Regions from separate parts of the Homo sapiens genome. Here region 1 is linked to region 2. Evidence: promoter capture Hi-C in 16 types of primary human blood cells and fetal thymus (Javierre and others, 2016). All regions are on one chromosome and are shown on one strand. Each heading gives the region's core, a stretch centred on a gene start or on the middle of the fragment in contact. The rest is flanking DNA. Distances are from core to core; before and after follow the strand shown.

Region 1 (5,006 bases), core at 1,827-4,326, 2.5 Mb after region 2:
GTATCAGATCAAGCTTGGAAATTACTTTTCCTGAAATCAAGCAACCATATGAAGTACATAATTTGAAATCAGAGTTGAGAATGAACACTTTAAACTTTACAGATGATATTTATTAACACTTATTACATGCTAATGGAATATTCAGAACTTCACAAAAAACCCATGCCCTTATGCCTCATTTTTATAGATCTTGGAGGACTCACCTCCTTTTTTAGATACCTGCTAGAGTAAAAGTTGCTCAACACCTGGGTCTATGGCAGAATCAAATTGCATCCGTACTTATAATTCTTTTCTGGTTATATTTGCACAATTAAATCTCAGCAGAGATTTTTTTTTTATTATACTTTAAGTTCTAGGGTACATGTGCACAACGTGCAGGTTTGTTACATATGTATACATGTGCCATGTTGGTGTGCTGCACCATTAACTCCTCATTTACATTAGGTATATCTCCTAATGCTATCCCTCCCCCCTCCCCCCACCCCATGACAGGCCCCAGTGTGTGACATGCCCCTTCCTGTGTCCAGGTGTTCTCATTGTTCAATTCCCACTTACAAGTGAGAACACGCGTGTTTGGTTTTCTGTCCTTGCGATAGTTTGCTGAGAATGATGGTTTCCAGCCTCATCCATGTCCCTATGAAGGACATGAACTCATCATTTTTTATGGCTGCATAGTATTCCATGGTGTATATGAGCCACGTTTTCTTAATCCAGTCTATCATTGTTGGACATTTGGGTTGGTTCCAAGTCTTTGCTATTGTGAATAGTGCCACAATAAACATACATATGCATGTGTCTTTATAACAGCATGTTTTATAATCCTTTTGGTATATACCCAGTAATGGGATGGCTGGGTCAAATGGTATTTCTAGTTCTAGATCCTTGAGGAATTGCCACACTGTCTTCCACAATGGTTGAACTAGTTTACAGTCCCACCAACAGTGTAAAAGTGTTCCTATTTCCCCACATCCTCTCCAGCACCTGTTGTTTCCTGACTTTTTAATGATCGCCATTCTAACTGGTGTGAGATGGTATCTCATTGTGGTTTTGATTTGCATTTCAACCTAACAATGACTTTCTTCACAGAATTGGAAAAAACCACTTTAAAGTTCATATGGAACAAAAAAAGAGCCTGCATTGCCAAGACAATCCTAAGCCAAAAGAACAAAGCTGGAGGCATCATGCTACCTGACTTCAAACTATACTACAAGGCTACAGTAACCAAAACAGCATGTTACTGGTACCAAAACAGAGATATAGACCAATGGAACAGAACAGAGCCCTCAGAAATAATACCACACATCTACAACCATCTGATCTTTGACAAACCTGACAAAAACAATAAATGGGGAAAGAATTCCCTATTTAATAAATGGTGCTGGGAAAATTGGCTAGCCATATGTAGAAAGCTGAAACTGGATCCCTTCCTTACACCTTATACAAAAATTAATTCAAGATGGATTAAAGACTTAAATGTTAGACCTAAAATGGAGATTTTTAGTCTCTTCCATTCCCAAATCTCCTCTACCTCTATCTTATTCTTAAATAAGTTAATTCCCAAAGCAAATGAATAACCATTCCTCAAGTAAGTGAAAAGAATACACAGTTTCCAAATGCCTTTTACCTGTATACTTTATGGGATGCTATTTTTTTCCCTCTTTACTCAAAAGAATAGCAATTCTTTACCATAGGTTAATACATAATCATTTGAAATCAGATTATATTCTTGATGGGCTGAAATGAAAGAAGTCAGTTTCCTGAATACAAATAAATGGTATTTGTCTCTTTGAATACTGTGATAGGAAGCTTTTTAATTATAGGCTTTTTATTGAAGTTTGGCTTCCTTATCAAATATTTTTTTTCTACCAATTTCATAAAGCAACATGCCCAGAGGACTGAATTTATTAATCTATATTTTGATGGGGAGCTATTTAGTTTTGTCCACTTACTTGTTTTAAAGATGGGAAAGTAGTAGCAAAATACACCCTGTGTCCTAAAACGATGATGAAATTCGGGGGCTACTCCAGGTAAGAAGTGAGAATAAAAGACTGGCGTGCTGAAACATAACATTTAGGCAATTTTATAATAGGGCAATGGATACTTCCAAGAAAAAACTTATAATTGCTCTTTTAAAGGTATAAATATGCTGGGCACGGTGGCTCATGCCTGTAATCCTAGCACTTTGGGATGCCAAGGGTGGCTGATCACTTGAGGTCAGGAGTTTGAGACCAGCCTGGCCAACATGGTGAAACCCGTTTCTACTAAAAATACAAAAATTAGCCAGGCTTGGTGGCACGTGCCTGCATTCCCAGCTACTCAGGAGGCTGAGGCAGGAGAATCACTGGAACACAGGAGGTGGAGGCTGCAGTGAGCTGAGATTGTGCCATTGCACTCCAGCCTGGGTGACAGATCGAGATTCTGTCTTAAAATAAAATAAAATAAAGATATAAATATGACTCATGAGTACATAAATAAAAATTTGGGAAGGAGGCAATAATGAAAAGTAGATATACCCATTCGGTGTTGAAAAGGACCTCTTGGGTTGAGTAGGTTTTGCCTTCAGACAATTGATATCTAAAGGACTAGAATTATTGAATGGTAAAGGATGTTTTTAAGGAAGACCTAAAAGAAGAAAAGGACAAAAAGAATATCTAGGCTAGGTCGAAGAAATCAGAGCCTTGAGAACAATTGAGAACTGGACCTTAAAGTGTCAGCCAGAAAGATGAGACAAGGAGAAAAGACTGCACCAGGGCCTGGCAGGGGGATAGTAGTAAAGATAGTCAGGTTTGTGGGTAACTTGAAGAGGCAGAGAAGATAAGTCAGGTAAGGATATGTGTGTGGCATTACCTGGGTAGGATGAGGCTTCTACAGAAACCCGAAAGCAGGCCACTAAGTCAATACTTGGACCTAGAACGGGAATTAGAAGTTGCACAGTCTATCCAAAGTCCCTTAATTTTATTTGCAGAGTAAAGGGGAACAGATAAATAAAATATGAAATAATTCAATAGTGTGTCAAAAGACATAGTATTAACCAGTTTTGTAGCTTTGAATAACTGTTTGGGTGTACTTTTCTTCCTTACAAAGTGAAAATAGAAATATAAAATTTTATAAAATGAAAAGTTTGCACAAACTGATTCCTTATGTTCAGCTCTCATCTTCTAAGAATCTGACACGCAAAATCCTAGTTGTATTTAATTTGCCCATGTTTCTGAATGGAAGAGGGGATGAATATCACTCTAGGGGGTGATAATTGGCAACGTCCAGAGACATTTTTGTTTGCCACAACTGGGGCAATGTTACTGGAATCTAGTGGGTACAAGTCAGGGTTGCTACTGAATATAAACAGGCAAGACTCCCACAACAGATAATTATCTAGCCCAAACATCAATAGTGCTGAGGTTGTGAAACTCTGCTACAGGTAAGAATTTCTTTACATCCAATTCGTGTTTACTGATCAGTTCTGCAGATCCTTTAGTAGAAAATATTGGGGAAAGCATTTCATTAGAGAGAATAGGCATAATTCAGAGACTTCTGAAGGAGTAAATCTTAACCTTGAAAATATCCAGTAATGAGGTAAGAGTGTTATGATCATGTTTATCATACAATAGCTATGGAAAAACTGTTGTCTCCTTACTTCTCTAATGAAGGCCTATTCAGCAATGGGAGTACATTCTGGAAGGCAGGAGAGATGGATTCCAGTGTGTTTGATTTTCTTCTGTCATTAGCCAGTTGTAATTGGGGTAGTAACTTAGTCACTGAGATTTGGTAGTTAGGAATACAGGAATCTACTTTTCCTTCTATCAAAGTTGCTGTGAAAATCAAGTGAAAGGACATCTGAAAGTGGTTTGAAAAGTTAAAAGTGCTATAAAGATATAAAAATTAATTCATGCTTATGTTTCACAATATTTACAACATTTTATCTAGCTTAACCTTGCTACGTATTAAAATGAACTCAACAAAGTTTGCATTCCAGTATGAGAAAGTATAGCATTATATTTTATGTAGAAAATGAAACCAAGTAAATTTCTGCTCACTAAGAGTTGAGAGTCTTGTTTGGTACATGTATCAGTTATCTATGACCACAATAAGCCTGCATAATAAACAATTGCAAAACCCTAAGTGTCATACAACATTAAGCATTTATTGTTCACATGTCTAGAATCAGCTGGGGTTTAGCCAGGCAGCTCCATCTTGGCTTAGATCACTCATCTATCTGGAGGATGGCTGGCTGTCAACTAACCGAGGATGCCTTGGCTGAGGCAACTGGCTTTGCTTTGTATGTCTTTCATCCTTCTGTGGACTAGACATAAGCATGTTCTTATGTTGAAAGTAGAGGGCAAGCTTCTGCTTACATCTTATCTGCTAATATTCCTTTGATCAAAGCAAGTCACCTGGCTGAGACCAGAGTAAAAGGCTGGGGGAACACTGCTATATGCATAGGGAGTGGACACTGAGTTACATGGCAAAGAATGTGGATATAAGGAATGATTAAGGTTTTGGCCACTGGTGCAATATACTTTAGGAAATAGTCACTAGATTATAAGGTGTCACACCCAGACCTGATGGAGGGGATAGGTATCACCCAGATTTTCTGGACTTTTAGTTGGATCAAGTTACTAAATATAACTCTGAGTTGACTTCTTTGTAGAGATAATACATGTGTAAGAAAAAGGATGTGCACAAATGTTCAGTTGTCAGAGGGAGGACAGTGGTAAAGAAAGCAACTGAGTATCAATATTTGTGCTTTCTTTTCTCTCTCAATCCATGCGGGGTCATCTAACTAGCTTTCTGCAATGGAATATAAGCAGAAGTAAGTGTGTTATTTCCAGTTTAAGAATTAGATGTTCATTCTCTTTTGTTTCTTTCCCTTTCTGCTGGGTGGAGGCAAAGTACTTCAATGGCCTAGGAGATGGCAGAGCCACAAAACGGATAAAGACCAGGGTCCCTGAATCTCCGTATAAAGGAGAGTCATCCACCAACCATTAATAACAGCAAGGAATAGTGCA
Region 2 (4,425 bases), core at 1,484-3,983:
ATTTTCTTTTTCAAAAAAAGCTTAGTTAAGATTTTCAAATGATAAAAAGATGTGAAGAATTTGGTCCACTCAATATTTACAAATATACAACAGTAGGAAAATAATGAATAAAGTAATGGAAAAGAACAGACAGCCTTGGATAGATCATATGTACAATAACTATCAGTAAGACATATGATAAATCAATTGAGAAAAATTAGATTATTAAACAAGAGACACTGGAAATATTAGCTCAATATGTGCAGGAGATTTTCAAATTAGTTCTACATTTCATAACATTCCTGAAAATAAATTCCAGTTGGATTAAGGATATTGGTATAAATGAATAAATCTATGAATAAACTCTGAAGCATATAAACATTGGTAAATATACACAAATAAAAGGATAATTTGTTTTATTTCCAAAAGTAACCATTTTGATATGTCAAAAGATTTCATATACATTTTTCTTCCCATGTAATTTAATCATGCTAAAATGTTCACAAGTAAAAACAAAAATCAGGATATAAATATATATAATGATAATCCCAATTTTACGAAGATGTATAGGTGACTATATATATTCAATATAATTTATATTTATATAAATTGTTTATAACAATGCTGCTAAAAATGAGAAGTACATAAAAACATCCTGAGAAAAGTAATATTTCTCCTGAAAAGCCTACTCCTGTTAAAAGGCTCAAAAGTGCAATACTCACTGTATCACTATCATCACTCTGGGTTTCTGATTTTGCATCACTCTCAATGTCTTCTTTTTCCAAGGAGGAAATGCTGAGTTTATCCAATTCAGCTTCTATTTCTGCTTTGAGCTTTGCATCATCATCGTCCATTATTCTTCATAATAAAGCACAGAACTGCTTTAAAAAATGAAGAGGCTAATATGTCACTAAAAATTATGTGTTCTCTAATTTGTCATACCAATCCAACATATTTATTTAAATATGTTTTAATTTAACAAACTTTTATCACACCTTATTATGGTTACACCAAACATTGTTTTATCTCTTCAATCATTCTTTTTAAACTTTGACTACAAAATGATCAACTGTAATTGTACGCTAATACTCTTATTGATTTATATGTTTATATAATTTTACTATATATAATAAAGATCAGAATTGTTTATAAAATTTTTGTTTCAGTTATTAATACATATAAATGTAGGTATGTATGCATGAGTTGCAATGTAATATGTGTTGTTGTTAATGTTCTGTTTTTTATTTTTCACTGTTGGTCTTAGTCCCAAAAAAGGTTTGAAAACGTACTAGTCAGCTATCATTTTATTTTTCATGACACTAGTTTAAACCTTTCTTTCTTTACTCAAGGGCCTGACCTTTCCACCTGTCTTCTTGTTCTTTTCTTCATTCCTTCTTTCCATCCTCTTTCCCTTTCGTTAATTCCTCCTTTCACTCTACTCAATCATCTCAAAATCAGTTCTACCCATAACTTCCACCCTCACTCACTCACTCAAAAATAAAAAATAAAATAAAAAAAGGAAAAGAAAGAAAAGAAAAGAAAAACAAAGTGAAATGGAACTCCAGACAGAACCAGGGCAAAATATTATCCTGCAATGGAACTCAAAGTGCATTTAAAAAGCTTTATTAGAAGGAAAGCTAGATTTTTTTTTTATGCCTACAAAGCAAAATGCACGGGTATACTAAACTTTATATAGAAAGAGAGGCAGGAGAGTATGGTGGAGGTAAGAGTCATTTCCTTTACATGACTTTCTCTGTTCATCTACTGGCTCATTAGATCACCCCTGTCCAATTACATATTTGAGCACTTACGCAAGTTTAAATTTTCTATTAGCAACTTTTTAAAAACAAAAGAGAAGTGCAATTAATTTTTATAATATATTTTATTTAACCCAATATATCCAAAATATTTCAACGTGTAATAACAAAATTAATTATTAATATCATTGCAAAGAGTTTATATTCTTTCTTTGGACAGTAATTCTTAGAAATCTGTTGTGTGTTTTACACCTGCAGCACATCTCAGTTAGGATTAGCTGCATTTCAAGTCCTCAGTAGCCACCTGCAGTTAGTGGTTACTGTATATGACGTGCAGTCATGGATGGGTCTCACTGTAAATGGGCTACATTAAAGTGCTCTAAGTTGATAACGAATCACTTGGAGTTCACTAAAGCTGTCAAAAGTAGAAAAGCTTAAGGAACTCCCCCTTCAACCCCTGTAAAGAAAGGGGAGAGAAATCTACTTTATAAGGTTCATATAAATTATATATTACCAAAAAAAAAAGAAAGAAAGAGAGACAGAAAAAGAAAGGGTGGAAAGGAGGGCGACAAGAAGGGAAGGAAGGAAGGAAAATAACGTCAATTGGTTTGTGGGGAGCGGTGAGTGAGTAACCATCGAATGATCCCTACATAGCCAAGACATCTCTTTAAGTTTTGAATGAGTTCTCGAAATCTCCAGGGTGGAAGGGAGCCTCGAGCTTCGCAGAGTCGCACAGCCATCCCCTGACCCGCGGTCTCTCCCTTTGCTGGAAGTCTGGCCAGGCAGAGAGAGTCCCGGCTCGGCCTGAGCTCCCACAGCTGTTCACCTCCCTCAACGGGAATCCCAGTCTTAAGACCCCGGCTCACCCCTCAGCAGCGAGATTCCTTGGCTTTGTTGTAAGACAGCGCCCATAGCCGCTACACAAAGCGTATCCATGGCAACAGCCAATCACAAGGAAGAGACACCGGTTTTTCCCTACAGGTGCTCTAGAAGGACAAACAATCTCGATTCTAAATTGAAACGAACGCAGCATTTCAGGGACTGGATGAGGAGCTTACGGTTTTTTACAGGTAGATTTTAATATTTAAGTAACTTTGGAAAATACTTAATAAAATGAAATTTTGTTATAATTACCCAAGTAGATGTAATCTCACTTTTAAATTTTTTAAATTGTTTCTGAGCTACATATATTTATATTTCCATCTGGTGATTTGCCCATGTATAAGGTGTTCATTCCACAAACCCTTAATCCTGAACAGTGATTTGTGGGACATAGAAGTATGGAAGAGAAGTCAATAAGTTGTTTGCCTTCCATGACAACAGTTTTTTAAAAAAGAAAAGAAAAGAAAAAGGAAAAAAGAAAAAAATCATCAATCAATGCCCATCAAAAACCTCTAACTGAAGGGATGTGGGTGAGAAATTTGAAAAATTATTTTCTGGAGTTATTTTACTGTAAAAATATTGTCACACAGTATTTCAATATAAAACCTTAATTTCTAAGTTTATGTCATGCTATTTAATTTTAACTTAATTTATTAAAGTTTTTTGTGGAGCAAATACATAGGGTACAAAATAATATTTTAATTAATAACATATTTTTTACTTTAATTTTCTTTTAAAGTTTGCAAATAAGGCATTAAATTCTAAAAGGAAGTAGCCATAATTGTAAAAGGTATCTGCTATAAAATAAGCTAAAAGCAAATATTTCACTGAGCCTCTGGAAAAAAAATAGACTACATTTCCTGGTAACAATAAACTTGAATTGCATCAACATAAGAACTAATAATATAAAGTGAGACGTTAATAGATTTCTCATATTAAAAGCACACATGTTAGTTTCCTTTTCAGGAAAGATGATTTTAAAAAATAAACTACACTTGGTTTCAGGTCTAATTAAATTCAGAGTATTTTCATTATCAAAGTCCATGCTCAAATGGAATTTGTTCTTTTTTTTAAGTTTGGTTTTATTGCTGATTTATAGACTATTGAAATTATCTATTTTTTATTGTTTTTTTAGAGACAGGGTCTCCCTCTGTTGCCCAGGCTGGAGTGCAGTGGTACAATTATTGCTCACTGTAGCCTCCAACTCTTGTACTCAAGTAATCCTCCCGCCTTGGCCTCCCAAAGCACTGGGATTATAGGTATGAGCTACTGTGTTCGAACCTCAAACTGTTCATTTAAAATAGACTTTCATATTGTGTTGAAGTTCACATAAGAATCTTAAGATTAGTTTTATTTTTGATTGTGAAACTATCCAGACTTCTAAAAATTATAAATCCTTTAATAATTTCAAAATTAATTTTGAATAACTAGTTTTCATAATCAAATAATTTTGGAAATAATGCCTTAGTTCCTTTCCTTCTCAAAGCTTACTTTGTCAAATATTGACAGCAAAAAAGAAAAACAGTGAAAGATTTTCTGAAGATAAATTAATTCATGGTGATAGATCTCCTATATTGTCATGCGATTTTTTACTTTGGAAGAAAGGACAACTTTATCAATTAGTCATAATTTCGCTAGAATATAACTAATCAAAAATAAAAGGCAGCAGTTATCTAATACATTTGTAGATTATAAGTAAATTTAACTTGACACTGTTGTTTATCAACCATGTAGTATTTAGCAGAAGTCCATTTTAATTGCATTATTCCTAGAAACGGTAACTTCAGATTGAGTATGTTGGTTTGCC

The links. Contacts are between HindIII fragments. The CHiCAGO score rates a contact against its expected background, and 5 or more counts as called.
Region 1: a fragment that was not itself captured here is called in contact with the fragment with the promoter of TSPAN19 in region 2 in 1 of 17 cell types (total B cells); the score reaches 5.5 in total B cells.

The regions. Positions count from the first base shown.
Region 1 is chr12:82,528,495-82,533,500 of GRCh38, reverse strand. No RefSeq gene overlaps it. Among named protein-coding and RNA genes, the nearest start is that of TMTC2, 160 kb to the left of the region's middle. RefSeq lists a silencer at 490-694. The HindIII fragment of the contact is 2,535 bases long and covers 1,809-4,343 here.
Region 2 is chr12:85,034,585-85,039,009 of GRCh38, reverse strand. TSPAN19 (tetraspanin 19) reads left to right here and starts at 2,733. Exons shown (of 9, transcript NM_001100917.2): 1 at 2,733-2,806. It overlaps LRRIQ1 (leucine rich repeats and IQ motif containing 1), which reads right to left and starts at 2,659. Exons shown (of 27, transcript NM_001079910.2): 1 at 2,603-2,659; 2 at 702-857. The coding sequence starts at 833. The HindIII fragment of the contact is 1,935 bases long and covers 2,172-4,106 here.